Regions from separate parts of the Homo sapiens genome. Here regions 1, 2, 3 and 5 are each linked to region 4. Evidence: promoter capture Hi-C in 16 types of primary human blood cells and fetal thymus (Javierre and others, 2016). All regions are on one chromosome and are shown on one strand. Each heading gives the region's core, a stretch centred on a gene start or on the middle of the fragment in contact. The rest is flanking DNA. Distances are from core to core; before and after follow the strand shown.

Region 1 (2,700 bases), core at 53-2,552, 290 kb before region 4:
GCCAATAATGGGGAAGTTACAAGGAAAAACTCAGTAAACAAGGGTAAGGTTTGTTATGTAAATTTAAGTCAGTGCCTTCTCCATTGGTAAGACTCAGTAACTTAGAGTCATTCTTTTCTTCCTTGTACAGACAGGGAGACACCCTTACAAATGGAGATCTTCTTTATACATGTAAGGTCTCTACCAAAGGGTAACTGCTGCACTATTTTTACAGTTTCTCCTGTGTCTAAAGTTTCTGAAAATAATCAGCTCAAATAATCCTTATGCGAAAGAAGCACATTTTAGGGGAGTCATAGTCTGAACTCCTGCAATGTGATAAAGACTGCACATGTAATAATTCTGGAGAAGCCAGGGTACATAAAGCCATGTGAGTCACACTCTCTGCTTGCAAAAGGGTTATCTCCTCAAGCTTGAGTAGGATGGTCCAAGCCTGTGGTTTTATCCCAGGCATGTGGAGGAGTTGGCAGATTAGAAAGAAAAAGGCCTGAGCAGTGCTGAGTGGGCAAGGGCAGCAACACTCTTCTAAAGGGCCAGGGAGTTTTGGACTGAGATGAACTAGATGACCATTAAGATTTATTCCAGTCTAAGATCCAATGCTTCTGTGACTCTAACATGTTTTACAGTTTCTTGTTTTGATGCTGCAGTATTACTAATAGCTATTATTTACTAAGCCACTTACTGTCTCATGTGTCCATATGAAGAGACCACCAAATAGGCTTTGTGTGAGACACAAGGCTGTTTATTTCACCTGTGTGCAGGCGGGCTGAGTCCAAAAAGAGACTCAGCAAGCATGGTGGGATTATCATTAGTTCTTGTAGGTTTGGGGATAGGCGGTGGAGTTAGGAGCAATGTTTTGTGGGCAGGGGGTGGATCTCACAAAGTACATTCTCAAGGGTGGGGAGCATTACAAAGAATCTTCTTAAGGGTGGGGGAGATTACAAACAATCTTTTTAAGGGTGGAGAAAATCACAAAGTACATTGATCAGTTAGAGTGGGGCAGAAACAAATCACAATGGTGGAATGTCATCAGTTAAGGCTATTTTCACTTATTTTGTGGATCTTCAGTTGCTTCAGGCCATCTGGATGTACGCGTGGCAGGTCACAGGGGATATGATGGCTTAGCTTGGGCTCAGAGGCCTGACACTTACTATTGAAACTGCCATTGCAAAATTGTAACTGAGGCAATGAAAGAGATCTGACCTAACCAACTCCGTCTTGCTTCTAACCTCCAAGCTATCCTTGCTCGTTCCTGGATGCAGGCTGAACTAACTTTGGGAGAAACTTAGTTTATAGTTTAGTGTTTAAAACAAAGACGATAATAGCTCTTTCACAAAAATCAACCTTCCTCTTGCCTGGGGACTAGATTCCCTTTGTAGGACTAACAAATTAGCCACAAGATTAGAAATTATGGTTTAGGAGTCATGCCACCGGAAGATTCTGACCCTCCTTAAACTATTCCTAAAATCAGTGCTTGAGCTGTTTTGCAGAGATATTTTGCAGATGCTTCACTTGATGGATTAGCTGGCACCACCCAGATCGATAAACTGGCTCATCTGATCTTGTGGCTCCAACCCAGGAACTGACTCAGGGCAAGAAGACAGCTTTGACTCCCGATGATTTCATCTCTGACCTGACCAATCAGCACTCCTGGCTCACTGGCCTCCCCACATCCACCAAGATGTCCTTAAAAATTCTGATTCCGGAATGCTCGGGAAGACTGATTTGAGTAATAATAAAACTCTGGTCTTCCACACAGCCAGTTCTGCATGAATTACTCTTTCTCTATTGCATTTCCCCTGTCTTGATAAATCGGCTCTATCTAAGCAGTGGGCAAAGTGAACCCACTGGGCGGTTACGCTATGGGCCAGGGTTTGCTGACTACTTCGTATGTATAAGGTTATTTATTCTTCATGATAACATAATTTTTAAAAAGGCATTGTCTTCCCCACTTTACAAATGAGACAACTAAAGTGCAAAAAGTGTAAGTAACTTTCAAAGATCACAGAATTTGAATGCGATGGCCAGGGCTGAGTCCATGCTCTAGACAGTAGTGTTCAACCTCTTCCCTTGGTGCTACCAGCTGGGGCCTGTACTAGTTTTCTATCCTCACCCTTGCACCATGACTTGGAGTCTCTCTGGAAGCTGACAGGAGAATTTCAGAGAAGGCACGACGCATCAGTGCCACTGGGAGGAAAGAAGCTTTTGTTTGATCCTCTAAGCCCCAGTTGGAACCAATCTTCGCAGTGGTGTTGGCAGCCTCAGGACTCTCTGGGGACTTTCCCATTCTGGAAACTGAAGATCTGCTTAAGCGCTGCACAGGTGACAGTTACCCGATCCTCGGCTAGCTCTTTGCTGTGGTGGCCAAGAAAATGCTCATTAAGTTTGGAGTTCTGTTTCCTTAGTTCCTTGTCCTGACAGCCTAAATGATTTCAGATTTTTCCAGTAGTGTGCTCTTCTCCCACCTACAAAACAAAATGTACATGTGCTTCCTAGGTTAAGGGATGGTTTTATTTAGGTCCAACTGGATGGTGGGAACTGAGAAATACTGCATTCGAGGACCGGGGCAAGTTCTGAAGCTCCTAAGCAGTGGGTGCCCACGGAGAATACATTTCAGGTCCATTATTCATGACTTAAGTTGATGTTCTCAAGCATTAGGCCAAAGACCTGAAAAATACAATAATCCCCGAGAAATGTACTGCC
Region 2 (2,700 bases), core at 94-2,593, 400 kb before region 4:
TGATAAACATGTTCCTCTCCAGGTAGGCACTGCAGCTAATGAGCACCACTCCAGGGGTGTGGAGGCCTGAGGTGGGAATCACAGTGATCTTGCTCAAGGCTGGTCTCAGCAAGGCCCTCCAGGAGAAGAGCTTGCCTGGAGCATAAGCTCTTCTCTTTCCTGCTACAAAGGTGCAGGTTCAAAGGGCTCTTTTGTTTGAACAATTAGGTGAGCAGGAAGGCAATTAACAGGCCACTCAAAGTAAGTGAAAGGCAAAGGAACTGAAGCTGCAGTCCTATTAAAGAATAACAGATAACAGGTGAAGATTAGCAGGGGCAAGTTCCTATTAATAACACCACCTATTAATAGCAGCAGTCTCTGACCGAGTGTATTGTCCCCAGGTTCTGTGCTAAACATGCAAAAAGCATTGTCTCATTTAATCATCACCACAGGCCAAGCAGGTGGGACATGCGCTCGGAATTGCTGTGGGTGTGAAATCACTCACCCTGCTCTCACACTGGAGCTTGGGGCTCAGCCATTCTAGTGCCAGTGTGTGTCCCATGATTTCAGACTGCCTTTCTGCAAAAGCTGAGAAGACAGCTTCAGTCCGTACGGTGATAAAGCGTATGTGGAGAAGAGAATCTTTTTTCTAATTTGCAAGGTTGCTCCCAGCATACAGAGCTGGGACTTTCCACTCTTATACAAATCAGCCCATCCTTCTCATCTGCTTTTCAAAATTGTACCTCCTGGGCTCTCCCAGGAATAAGAAACCAGCTTTTTATGGAGTCATGCAATTCTTCAAGACTTTTTCCTCAGCAATACAAAGACCAGGCAGCCAAAGCTTGGAAATGACCAAGTCACTGTTTGTATGAACTCAGTTACATTTTTAAATACTTTAATTGATGCATAGCGATTGTATATATTCATGGAGTACATAGTGAGGTTTCCATACCTATAATGTATAGTGATCAGATCAGGGTAATTAGCATATCCATAATCTCAAACATTTACTTCTTTGTTTTGGAAACATTCAATATCCTAGCTATTCGAGACTATAGAATATATTACTGTTAACTACAGTCACTCTACATTGGCATAGAACTCTAGAACTTATTCCTCTCATCTAGTTGTAATTTTGTATCTTTTAACAAATCTCTCCCTATCTCTCTCAGTTACATTTTTAAGGCAAACCCTTCATTCTGAGTATGTGTCTGAGAATGGCAGTAGAGTAGTTCTCTTTTCCTCTGTTATGTTTAGATTCTTGAGGTGTGCATTTACTTTAGAATGCATGACAACTCTTAGTCACTGCAAAGATAATAAGTTGTAGTCATGTAGCAGGACGAGCTGCAGACAAAACTCCTCAGACACTGGGTTAAAGAAGGAAGGAGCTTTATTTGGTCTGGAGCTTCGGCAGACTTGCATCTCAAAAGCCGAGCTGCCCGAGTGAGCAATTCCTGTCCAAGGGCTTACAACTCTAAGAGGGTCTGCATGAGAGGGCTGTGATCAATTGAGCAAGCAGGGGGTACGTGACTGGGGGCTGCATGCACCGGTAATTAGAATGGAACAGAACAGGACAGGGGTTTTCACAGTGCTTTTCTATACAATGCCTGGAATCTATAGATAACACAAGTAGTTAGGTCAGAGGTTGATTTTTAACTACCAGGGTGTGTGCCAGGCTATCTGTCTGTGGATTTCATTTCTGCCTTTTAGCTTTTACTTCTTCTTTCTTTGGAGAAACGCCCAGAAACTGGGCGTAAGACACTATGAGGAGTGGTCTCCTCCCTTAGTCATACCTACATTCTTACTTTAATAAAACTGCACTTTCATGGGAAAAGCATTTTTTTTCTGGTTTTCATATTAACTGGCTTGGGCTGAAGTTATGCTTAGGAAAGCTTGGACAGTCGGTTGTTGCAACCAGACCCAAGGAGGCCTTGTCTGCCTGGGCTGCATGAATGAGGAACTGGGGACAGGTATTGAGACTGGAGAGGTGGGAATCAGATATTCCAAAGCCTAACCTCCTTAGTGAAGCCTACAGATCGCCTGTTCCTACAGGCTTCATAGCCAGAATGCCTTTCTTGGCAGATCAATTGTCCTTCTTTGGAATCATTTTAAAAGCTCTCCGGCTACTTCATCCTCTCCAGTTATCACTGGATCTTTTAAAGGACTCTGAAATGCACACTGAGTAGCAGTCAGCCTCATTTCACTTACAAAAATGGGTTCCTGAGATTTTGCTGTTTATGGATATTTTGTAAATAGAATCCGTTTAAAGGCACTAGAGGAAATTTCTATTTAAATGAATCCTCCTGGGAATCCCTTTGCATTGAAAATGTGAATTGATCTGTTCCATAACATGGATCTGTCAGATTTTCTCAGGGTGGCCTTGCAGTGCGGCACCCCAGGGAAGAATTACAGTAGAGTAATGGAGCGACTCCAGGCTGGCGGCCTCTGCTTGTGTTCCCGCCATCTGTAGCAAAGGATGCCTCAACCTGGGCAGCAGGATTGGGATGTGAAACATAAAATGTGCTGTGACATCAAATATACAATTCTGACAGCCTCCTACTCATTTAAAAGATTTCTTGTTAGGTTTTTAAGTCCTTTGGGAGGATCCTTCTATCCTCTTACACAAGGAATGCTACTCTTGATGCAATTAATCTGAAAGAGGATTTAAAGACAATTTCTATGCCAGGGCTTCCGCTGTGTGAAGCCAACATTAGGTTCAAG
Region 3 (2,700 bases), core at 184-2,683, 440 kb before region 4:
CCAATAGTTAATATACATTTTTTATATTTTTAAAAATTAACCTATCATAGTTGTACATATTTGAGGGGAAGCATGTGATATTTTGATACATGTATACAACGTGTAATGATGAAATCAGGGTGACTGAGATATCCATCACTTCAAACATTTATCTTTTCTTTGTGTTGGAAACATTATAATTCTCTTTTAGCTATTTTGAAATATACCATAAATCATGGTAAACTATAATTTCCCTACTGTACTATTGAATACTAGAACTCATTCCCTCTATTTAACTGTGTGTTTTTACCTGTTAACCAAGTTCTCTTCATCCTCCCCTCCCTTCTTCCCTTCCCAGCTTCTGGTAACCACCATTCTACTCTTAATCTCCATGAAGTTCACTTTTTTAGATTTCACATAAGAGAGAGAAACATGTGATATTTGTCTTTCTGTTCCTGGCTTATTTCACTTAAATAATGACCTTCAGTTCCATTCATGTTGCTGCAAATGACAGGATTCTGTTCTTTTTAATGGCTGAATAATATTCCATTGTGTATATCAAATATTTCATCTTAACATAAAGTAAGCTGAAGTAAAGATAACTACCCTCAATCAGAGTCTAGAAACATGGCGACTGAGATTTGGGGGTAAGGAGAGCAGTGGAGGGTGGAAAGGTGTTGAGGTACCCTGTGCTTTGCCCACAGCTGGGGCTACACAGGCTGCCTTCTCTCCTTCCTCCTTAGGGTCTAGCACAGTCCTACCTGGCCAGATGCAAGGTCACATTGCTAGCAGACACCCCCCTTCCTCCCTCTTTTCTTCCTCTTCTTCACCCCTCTCATTCTTCACCCTAGTAGCCACTGTGGGTGCCCAAGTCCTGCCTGGGTCCCTTGTCTCCACCTCAGGTGAGCTGGACCTGCTGTGGAGGTGAGCTGGACCTGCTGTGGAGGTGAGCTTTCCCGCTCTTTGGTAGGAAGGAGAAAGCACTGAGCAAGGAGCTGACTGATGGGCTTAGTTGCGAACATGCATGCTGGTCTCAGGCTAGTCTTTCTTTGTCTTCCTTTGCCTGTCCCTGTGAGCCAAGAGCCTTCACCACAGGTACTTGGGGTCAGCTGCAGGAGATTTCCTGGAACTCTGAACTTCTGGGTTTCAGTTTCTCTACCTGTCATATGAGAAGGAACCTGTTTGAGTCTCTCTCACAGCAGGCTGGTGTCTGCACGGAGGCTCTGAGGAGCTCATGGTCATGAAATCTGAGTGCCCCAAACCCACAGACGGAGACAGAGGCACCGCTTCCTGGAAGGCACAGTGAGAGCTGTTAAAATGCTAAACGACCAGGTCAAGCCTCCATATCCCTCGAGAGGCGTTTATGCATTTTACTGGAACACTCTGGCATGAAGCGTTCCCTGAAACAATTAAAAAGATAATGTACTCAGCCTGTGCTCTGTCTGTCTTTACTCTTTGTGCTTTTTCATGACGTTATCCATTCCCAGAACTCAGAGAGCCCCCTCTCCTCTTTCAGTTGACATTTGCTTGGCTGACTGACTCTCTTACTCGCTGTTTCCTTTCCTTTGGATGATTGACTTTTAGCATCATTTCAATGTCTATAACTAAATCAGCAAGGCTTCTAGGTCCAGCACTATAATTCTAAATTTCACTGCTACTACAAACATATCATGTCTGCCGACTGGACCAAGTGATTATAAGTCCCAATTAAACCCTAGGTTTTGCTTTTAAGCCAGTTTCAAGTCAGGCATTTATTCACAGTTGTCTGTAATATCAGGCACTGTGCTAGGCAAATGCGGCAGAAAGTGGCTGAGAAATGGTGCTCATTCTCCCAGAATTCAGAAGGTTTTGGTGAGACAGACAGATAATAGTTAATGAATTTAATGATGACAATGCAGTGATGATCAGTGACGAGCCGATGACTTGATAATGACAATCCATGTGATAAATACAATAGCAATGGTATCATAACGTGACGGGACAGTGAAGAGGAGAGAGTAGCCTAGGATAGGGCTGCACAGATGAGGTGATGTTTGCACCAGGCCTTAGAGGCTAAGGAATCTCAGCAGGGCAAGAAGAACTTCCAGAAAGGGGAGCATCCGTTCATTCATGGAACAAATATCTATGGGGAGTTTGCAGTGTTGCCTAAACAAAAATCAGGAAACCTGACGTGTGTGTTTTTGAAAAAAAATATTTATTACAGAAGTTTTTTGTTCTTTTTTTTTTTTTTTTTTTTTTTTTTTTGAGACGGAGTTTTGCTCTTGTTGCCCAGGATGGAGTGCACTGGTGGAATCTCAGCTCACTGTAACCTCTGCCTCCTGGGTTCAAGTGATTCTCCTGCCTCAGCCTCCTGAGTGGCTGGGATTACAGGCACCCACCACCACGCCTGGCTAATTTTGTATTTTTAGTAGAGACGGGGTTTCTCCACCTAGGTCAGGCTGGTCTTGAATTCCTGACCTCAGGTGATCCGCCCGCCTCGGCCTCTCAAAGTGCTGGGATTACAGGCTTAAGCCACTGCGCCTGGCCAGAAAATTTTAAACATACAAAAGTAGAAAGGCTAGTAAGATAAAGCCCCATATATACATCATCCAGTTTTAATCATGGTTCTTGTGGTCTCCATGCACTCACCCACTACAATTAGCTTCTGCTGTTTATTTCGAAGCAAGCCTCTGGCATCATATAATTTCATTCTTAATGTTTCACTAACAGGATGGTTTAAGT
Region 4 (2,700 bases), core at 182-2,681:
AATCATGCGAGCAGAGTCCTCACGGTCTAATCACCTCCTAAAGACCTCACCTCTTTCTTAATACTGTTACATTGGGGATTATCTTTCAACTCGAATTTTGGTTTTGTTTGTTTGTTTGTGACAGAGTCTCGTTCTGTCACCCAGGCTGGAGTGCAGTGGTGCAATCTCAGCTCACTGCAACCTCCGCCTCCCAGGTTCAAACGATTCTTGTGCCTCAGCCTCCTGAGTAGCTGGGATTACAGGCATGCACCGCCACGCCTGGCTAATTTTTTGTATTTTTAGTAGAGTTGGGGTTTCACCATGTTGGCCAGGCTGGTCTAGAACTCCTGAGCTCAGGCAATCCACCTGCCTCAGCCTCACAAAGTGCTGGGATTACAGGGGTGAGCCACCGCGCCCGGCCTCAGCATGAATTTTGGAAAAGACACAAACATTCAAGCCAAAGCAATATCCTTATGTTAATTCCAGTTATCTCTGACCATGGAATAATGGATAACTATAATTTTATTCTTTGTGCTTCTCTGTACAATCCAATTTCTCTCTACAATAAATATGTATTGCTTTCAGAATCAATGAAAATAAGTTGCATTTAAGAAAAAATTTTTCTCTTCTTCCCAGTTTGAAATACATTTTCTTTAAATTCAAGTCTACTGCCACATTAGGCAGGTTTTGTTTCTTTTTTGTTTGTTTAAATGAAACAAGTAACTGTTCAGCAAGTGGCTAAGAATAACCTCTCCAGGCAGTGGTAAGAAGTAGGAAGTAGGGAAAGAGAGAAAAGAGCTACTCAGGGTCAAAAGAGGCACCGACAGGGTTGGGGGTGGAGTTCAGAATGCCAGGTTAGCTGCCAAGGTACAGAGAGAGAAAGACAGAAACAGAGAGAAAAGGAGGGAGAGAGAGAGACAGAGCAGAGAGGGAGGGAGAGAAGAGAGCACACGTGTGTGCTTTGACCAGCAGGCCAGGATGGGGCTGTTTTCCTCTCCTGTGTCTGCCCCCACCTTGCAGGATCATTTGGAGTCATTGCAGGGCTAGCTTAGCTCTGCCTGAGTCACCCCCAACAGGTAAACTTCTACCAGCAGAGTCTCTCCTTTCGGTTAAAGAGTTGCTTATAGATCTCGTGGTTTTTCAGTTAACATCCTCAGGATCCCCACTTCAGCTCCCACCTTCTTTCCCAGGTCTGGCCTCCCTAGTCCCAGTTTTGGCTCCATCATCCTATTTCCTTCACTCCTTTCCTCCAGCTTCTTCCCAGCTTCTTCCCTTCGTGCATCTGCACCTCAGCTTCCCAGTGCTCTGTGTTCACTTTGCTCATCGCTCGGGCTTCAGCATCTCCCACTATGTTGGTTGATAATTCCCCACCAGAGAGCCACACACCCCTGAGGAAGAAGGGAGAAGCCAGAGGTTTCTGGAAAATCCAGGAGGCGGAGCAGGCTGGAATGGAAGGTAGAGACAACCATGAAAGTTGAACACGTCATCTGTGCAGGACCGTTCATACTGACATGTGGCTTGACACCAGAAATCTGGGTATTGTAATATCATGTTGGAAAGGAGTTTGTGTGCCTCAAACAACTACTCTAGAGATGTTTTACAATGACAATGATAGAGTAGAGGAATCTTCTAATTCCTACCAAATCAGAAGGGAATTCCTCCTTCCTGCCTGCCTGCCTGCCTTCCTTTCTTTCTCTACTTCCTTTTCTTTCTTTCTTTCCTTCCTTCCTCTCTCTCTTTCTCTCTTTCTTCCTTTCTTTCCTTCTTTCTTTCTTTCTCTCTCTCTCTCCCCTTCCTTCCTTCCTTCCTTCCTGAGACAAGGTCTTGCTCTGTCTCCCAGGCTAGAATGCGATGGTGCAATCATGATTCACTGCAGCCTCAACATCCCAGGCTCAAGTGATCCTCCCACCTCAGCCTCCTGAGTAGCTGGGACTACAGGGGCTTGCCACCACGCCCAGCTAATTTGCGTGTGTGTGTGTGTGTGTGTGTGTATGTGGTAGAGATGGGGTCTCACTATGTTGCCCAGCTGGTCTCAAACTCCTGGTCATAAGCAATCCTCCACCTCGGCCTCCCAAAGTGTTGGGATTACACGTGTGAGCCACCATGCCCAGTCTCTATTTCTTAATAGTGTCAGCAACTGAAAGATATAGAAAAGGAAGTCTGTTTGGTGTGTCTGTTGCCTCCCCAAAATCTTCAGCCTTTGTAGGACAGTGCATCCCACTGGGCAAAACCAGAGAATATTCTTTTGTGAGCCCGTAAGTAATTGTCTGCAATAGACATGCAGGGGCCTCTACTGTCATCTCTTATGCAACTGAACTTCCTAAAAACTGTGGTGTTTATCTCTTCTGTTGCTCAGCACTGCTGGGACTGGGACTGCAAAAAACAAAAAAGCACCCAGGTTTACTGCCCTTAAAAAACTGACTGCTAGAGGAGATGAGCATATACATGACAGGATGTGATAAGATATTAAGCAGAATGTGATCAGAATCATAGGAAGTATATACAAAAGATGGGAACACTAATAGAGGTGACTACAACCACCTGCTTTGTAGAGGAGATGACATTCAAGCTGAGTTTTAAAGGATGAGTAGGAGTTGGCCAGAAATGGAGAGGGAGAATAAACCATGGGGAAGTAGTACACAGGCATGGCATGTTTAGAGCATTTTTGGAGCAGGGTAACCAGAATATACTGGAGGTTGCTAGTAGAGGAGATTGGAAAAG
Region 5 (2,700 bases), core at 53-2,552, 370 kb before region 4:
CAGAGTTCAGCGAGGACAGCTTCTTTGTCTCTGCTCCATGGATAGAGGCTGAGGGGTGACTAGTCCTGGGGCTGCAGTCATCTCTGGGCTCACCCGTTCAACATGACTGGGTTGTTGCTGGGGGATCCCACTTGGGCCATCAACTAGAACCATTATAGGGGCCCCTCCCTGTGGCTGCTGGGCTACTTCACAACATGATGGCTGGATTCCAGGAGACAGGAAACAGCAGCCACCAGCTTCTTCAGGAAGCATCCCCTTCTGCCGTACTCAAGTGACTAAGGAGCCTCAGAGAGCTAGGACTCAGGAGGGTCACACGTAGACCCCCCCACTCTTAGTGGAAGGGCTGTAAGAGATACCGGGCCTTGTTTTATAGTGGTCACAGTGGTTTATCTTTCAGTTGTAGAATCACAGCATTTACTTCTTAGAAGTCATTGAGGCCATTTTCAATGAACCTCCACACTTTGCAGGAACCTTGTCTGCAGCACGCTAGCATAAGTTAGTTGTGGTCTGCCCTGGACTGGGAGATCGTGTGATCATCACAGAGCCATCCTACAGCAAGGAGGACCCGGAGGCATCAGGCGCATAACAAGAACATGAGAAAGGCCCTTCCTTTAAGCCCTTGAGCCCCTGGCTAGGTCCCTGGCAGGACTACTGGGATCAGCCTCCACCTTTTCTGTGTCTTTCAGAATGGTTCAGATGCAGAGGAGGAGCTGTTAGAAGTGTAGTCCCCCAGAACCCGTGGGCCATGAGAGCCAGAACAGCCAGTCTTTGCACATGAGCCAGTAGTCCATCTAAGTGGTACTGCCTTAGGAGTTTACTCAACTCTTTAAACTTACTGCCGTCATTATCAACAAAACCATCATCTTCAACTTCATTACACTTGACGGTATCTCTGCACTTCTTAGCACCTACCACTTGACACTTATGCTTCCTGTGTATGCCCACATAGGTGTGTATGTGACTCTGAAATCTGTCCTCCTTACTAGAAAGTAAGCTTCATGAGGACCAAGTCTTTGAGTGCTTTCCTCATTACTGTTACCCTGGTGCCTGCAACAGTGACTGCACTCTGTAGGTGTCTAATAAAAATAAATAGTTTTAAGGGAATAAATGAATGATCACCATCACCATTGTCATAATCACCTCATAGTGACTTTTTGTTTATCCCAACCAAATGTCTGTCTCTTGATTCTTATACTTTCTCTTAATCCTTGTTTTTCTGCTAAAAAGACATAAATTGCTAAAATGTTTGATAAGCAGTTGGGGGGTCTGCTTTCTTTTTTATTTGCTAATCAAACAAGTTATGAGATCTTTCCTTGGTTTTGGCTTTGATTGGAAGAATTGTTGAATTAGCTGTTCCCTCTAAGTTTACTTTTAGTTCCAAAATATTAACATATAAACCATAGATAAATGCAGCTACAGCTACCTATGCCAAAAATTTCCTGCACAAATTCTGATGACTTCATGAGTTTGTGTTAGTTATAAGAGGTCTAAGAATGAGGAAAACGGTGTCATTTGGTAGGCCTTCAGTTTAGAATCACGACATAGCAGGGATGTGACTTTCTTAAAACCAATATCCTAGCATTGTGCTTCACCTTAAAATGAATCCATCACTAAGCTTAAATGATGAGGAAAATGGAAGAAAAGAGAAATTCTATTTCTTATGAATTTATTTTTATTTTTATTTTGTGAGACAGAGTCTTGCTCTGTTGCCCAGGCTGGAGTGCAGTGACAGGATCTCAGCTCACTGCAACCTCCACCTTCTGAGTTCAAGCAATTCTCCTGCCTCAGTCTCCCGAGTAGCTGGGATTACAGGCATCTGCCTAATTTTTGTGTTGTTAGTAGAGACGGGGTTTCGCCATGTTGGTCAGGTTGGTCTTGAACTCCTGACTCCCGTGATCCACCTGTCTTGGCCTTCCAATGTGCTGGGATTACAGGTGTGAGCCACCATACCCGGCCTTATTTCTTATGAATGTAGCACTTAGGAAAGGAAGGAATCTGGCCTGGGACTCTTACTTCTTTGACTTCTCTGGGTTCTCATCAATCACCAAAAATGGTCGACTCTGTCTCAGAAGCCTCCTGCCTTCCCTTTCTCGTCCAAGCGTCCATCACACAGCACCACACCTGAGAGGTGATACAGTCTCTAGTCCCTTTGCCGCTGGAGGAAAACTGAAGACCTACCAAATAATACGGGCTCTTAGGAGGCCTGGAAGCTGTGGTTGGTCAGTCTTATGCTCCTCTCAAGGCCCTGTTCAATTTGCCTGCTTCCTGAAGCTGACCCTTATTCCCAGGCATGGTGACATCACATCCACCCAGTCCCTTTAGCTCCGATTTTCCACACTGTTTTTTTCGCATCCTAAGTCCATTATCTTTTATTCTTAGTCATTTTCTTATACTCATGACTAGTATCTCTCCATCTAGGATTCAAGCTGCAGGTCTGAGAGGAATAAAAAAATAGCAAAAGAAATTATCAACAGAGTAAACAGACAACTTACAGAATAAGAGAAAATATTTGCAAACCATTCATCTGGCAAAGGCCTAATTTCTAGAACCTATAAAGAACTCAAACAAATTTACAAAAAAAAAAAAAAAGACAAATAACCTCATGAAAAAGTAGGCAAAGGACATGAACAGAACTTTTCAAAAGAAGACATACATATGGAAAAAACTCAATACCACTTGTCACTAGAAAAATGCAAATCA

The links. The method cuts DNA at HindIII sites, captures the fragments that hold promoters and counts their contacts. A CHiCAGO score of 5 or more calls a contact.
Region 1: a fragment that was not itself captured here is called in contact with the fragment with the promoter of TMEM78 in region 4 in 1 of 17 cell types (M2 macrophages); the score reaches 5.1 in M2 macrophages.
Region 2: a fragment that was not itself captured here is called in contact with the fragment with the promoter of TMEM78 in region 4 in 1 of 17 cell types (M1 macrophages); the score reaches 5.3 in M1 macrophages.
Region 3: a fragment that was not itself captured here is called in contact with the fragment with the promoter of TMEM78 in region 4 in 5 of 17 cell types (non-activated CD4 T cells, M1 macrophages, monocytes and 2 more); the score reaches 6.7 in non-activated CD4 T cells.
Region 5: a contact is called between a fragment that was not itself captured here and the fragment with the promoter of TMEM78 in region 4, in 1 of 17 cell types (M2 macrophages). The highest score is 5.2, in M2 macrophages.

What each region holds. Positions count from the first base shown.
Region 1 is chr1:228,955,484-228,958,183 of GRCh38, forward strand. All of the region lies in intron 1 of LOC105373143 (a long non-coding RNA gene), which reads left to right. Among named protein-coding and RNA genes, the nearest start is that of LINC02815, 200 kb to the right of the region's middle. RefSeq lists an enhancer at 1,746-2,606. The HindIII fragment of the contact is 1,790 bases long and covers 408-2,197 here.
Region 2 is chr1:228,848,980-228,851,679 of GRCh38, forward strand. No RefSeq gene overlaps it. Among named protein-coding and RNA genes, the nearest start is that of RHOU, 110 kb to the left of the region's middle. RefSeq lists an enhancer at 1-741. The HindIII fragment of the contact is 1,051 bases long and covers 819-1,869 here.
Region 3 is chr1:228,803,865-228,806,564 of GRCh38, forward strand. No RefSeq gene overlaps it. Among named protein-coding and RNA genes, the nearest start is that of RHOU, 70 kb to the left of the region's middle. The HindIII fragment of the contact is 5,276 bases long and covers 1-2,700 here.
Region 4 is chr1:229,248,205-229,250,904 of GRCh38, forward strand. It overlaps TMEM78 (transmembrane protein 78), which reads left to right and starts at 1,432. Exons shown (of 1, transcript NR_172940.1): 1 at 1,432-2,700. All of the region lies in intron 1 of LOC102723935 (a long non-coding RNA gene), which reads right to left. The HindIII fragment of the contact is 6,724 bases long and covers 1-2,700 here.
Region 5 is chr1:228,876,254-228,878,953 of GRCh38, forward strand. No RefSeq gene overlaps it. Among named protein-coding and RNA genes, the nearest start is that of RHOU, 140 kb to the left of the region's middle. The HindIII fragment of the contact is 621 bases long and covers 993-1,613 here.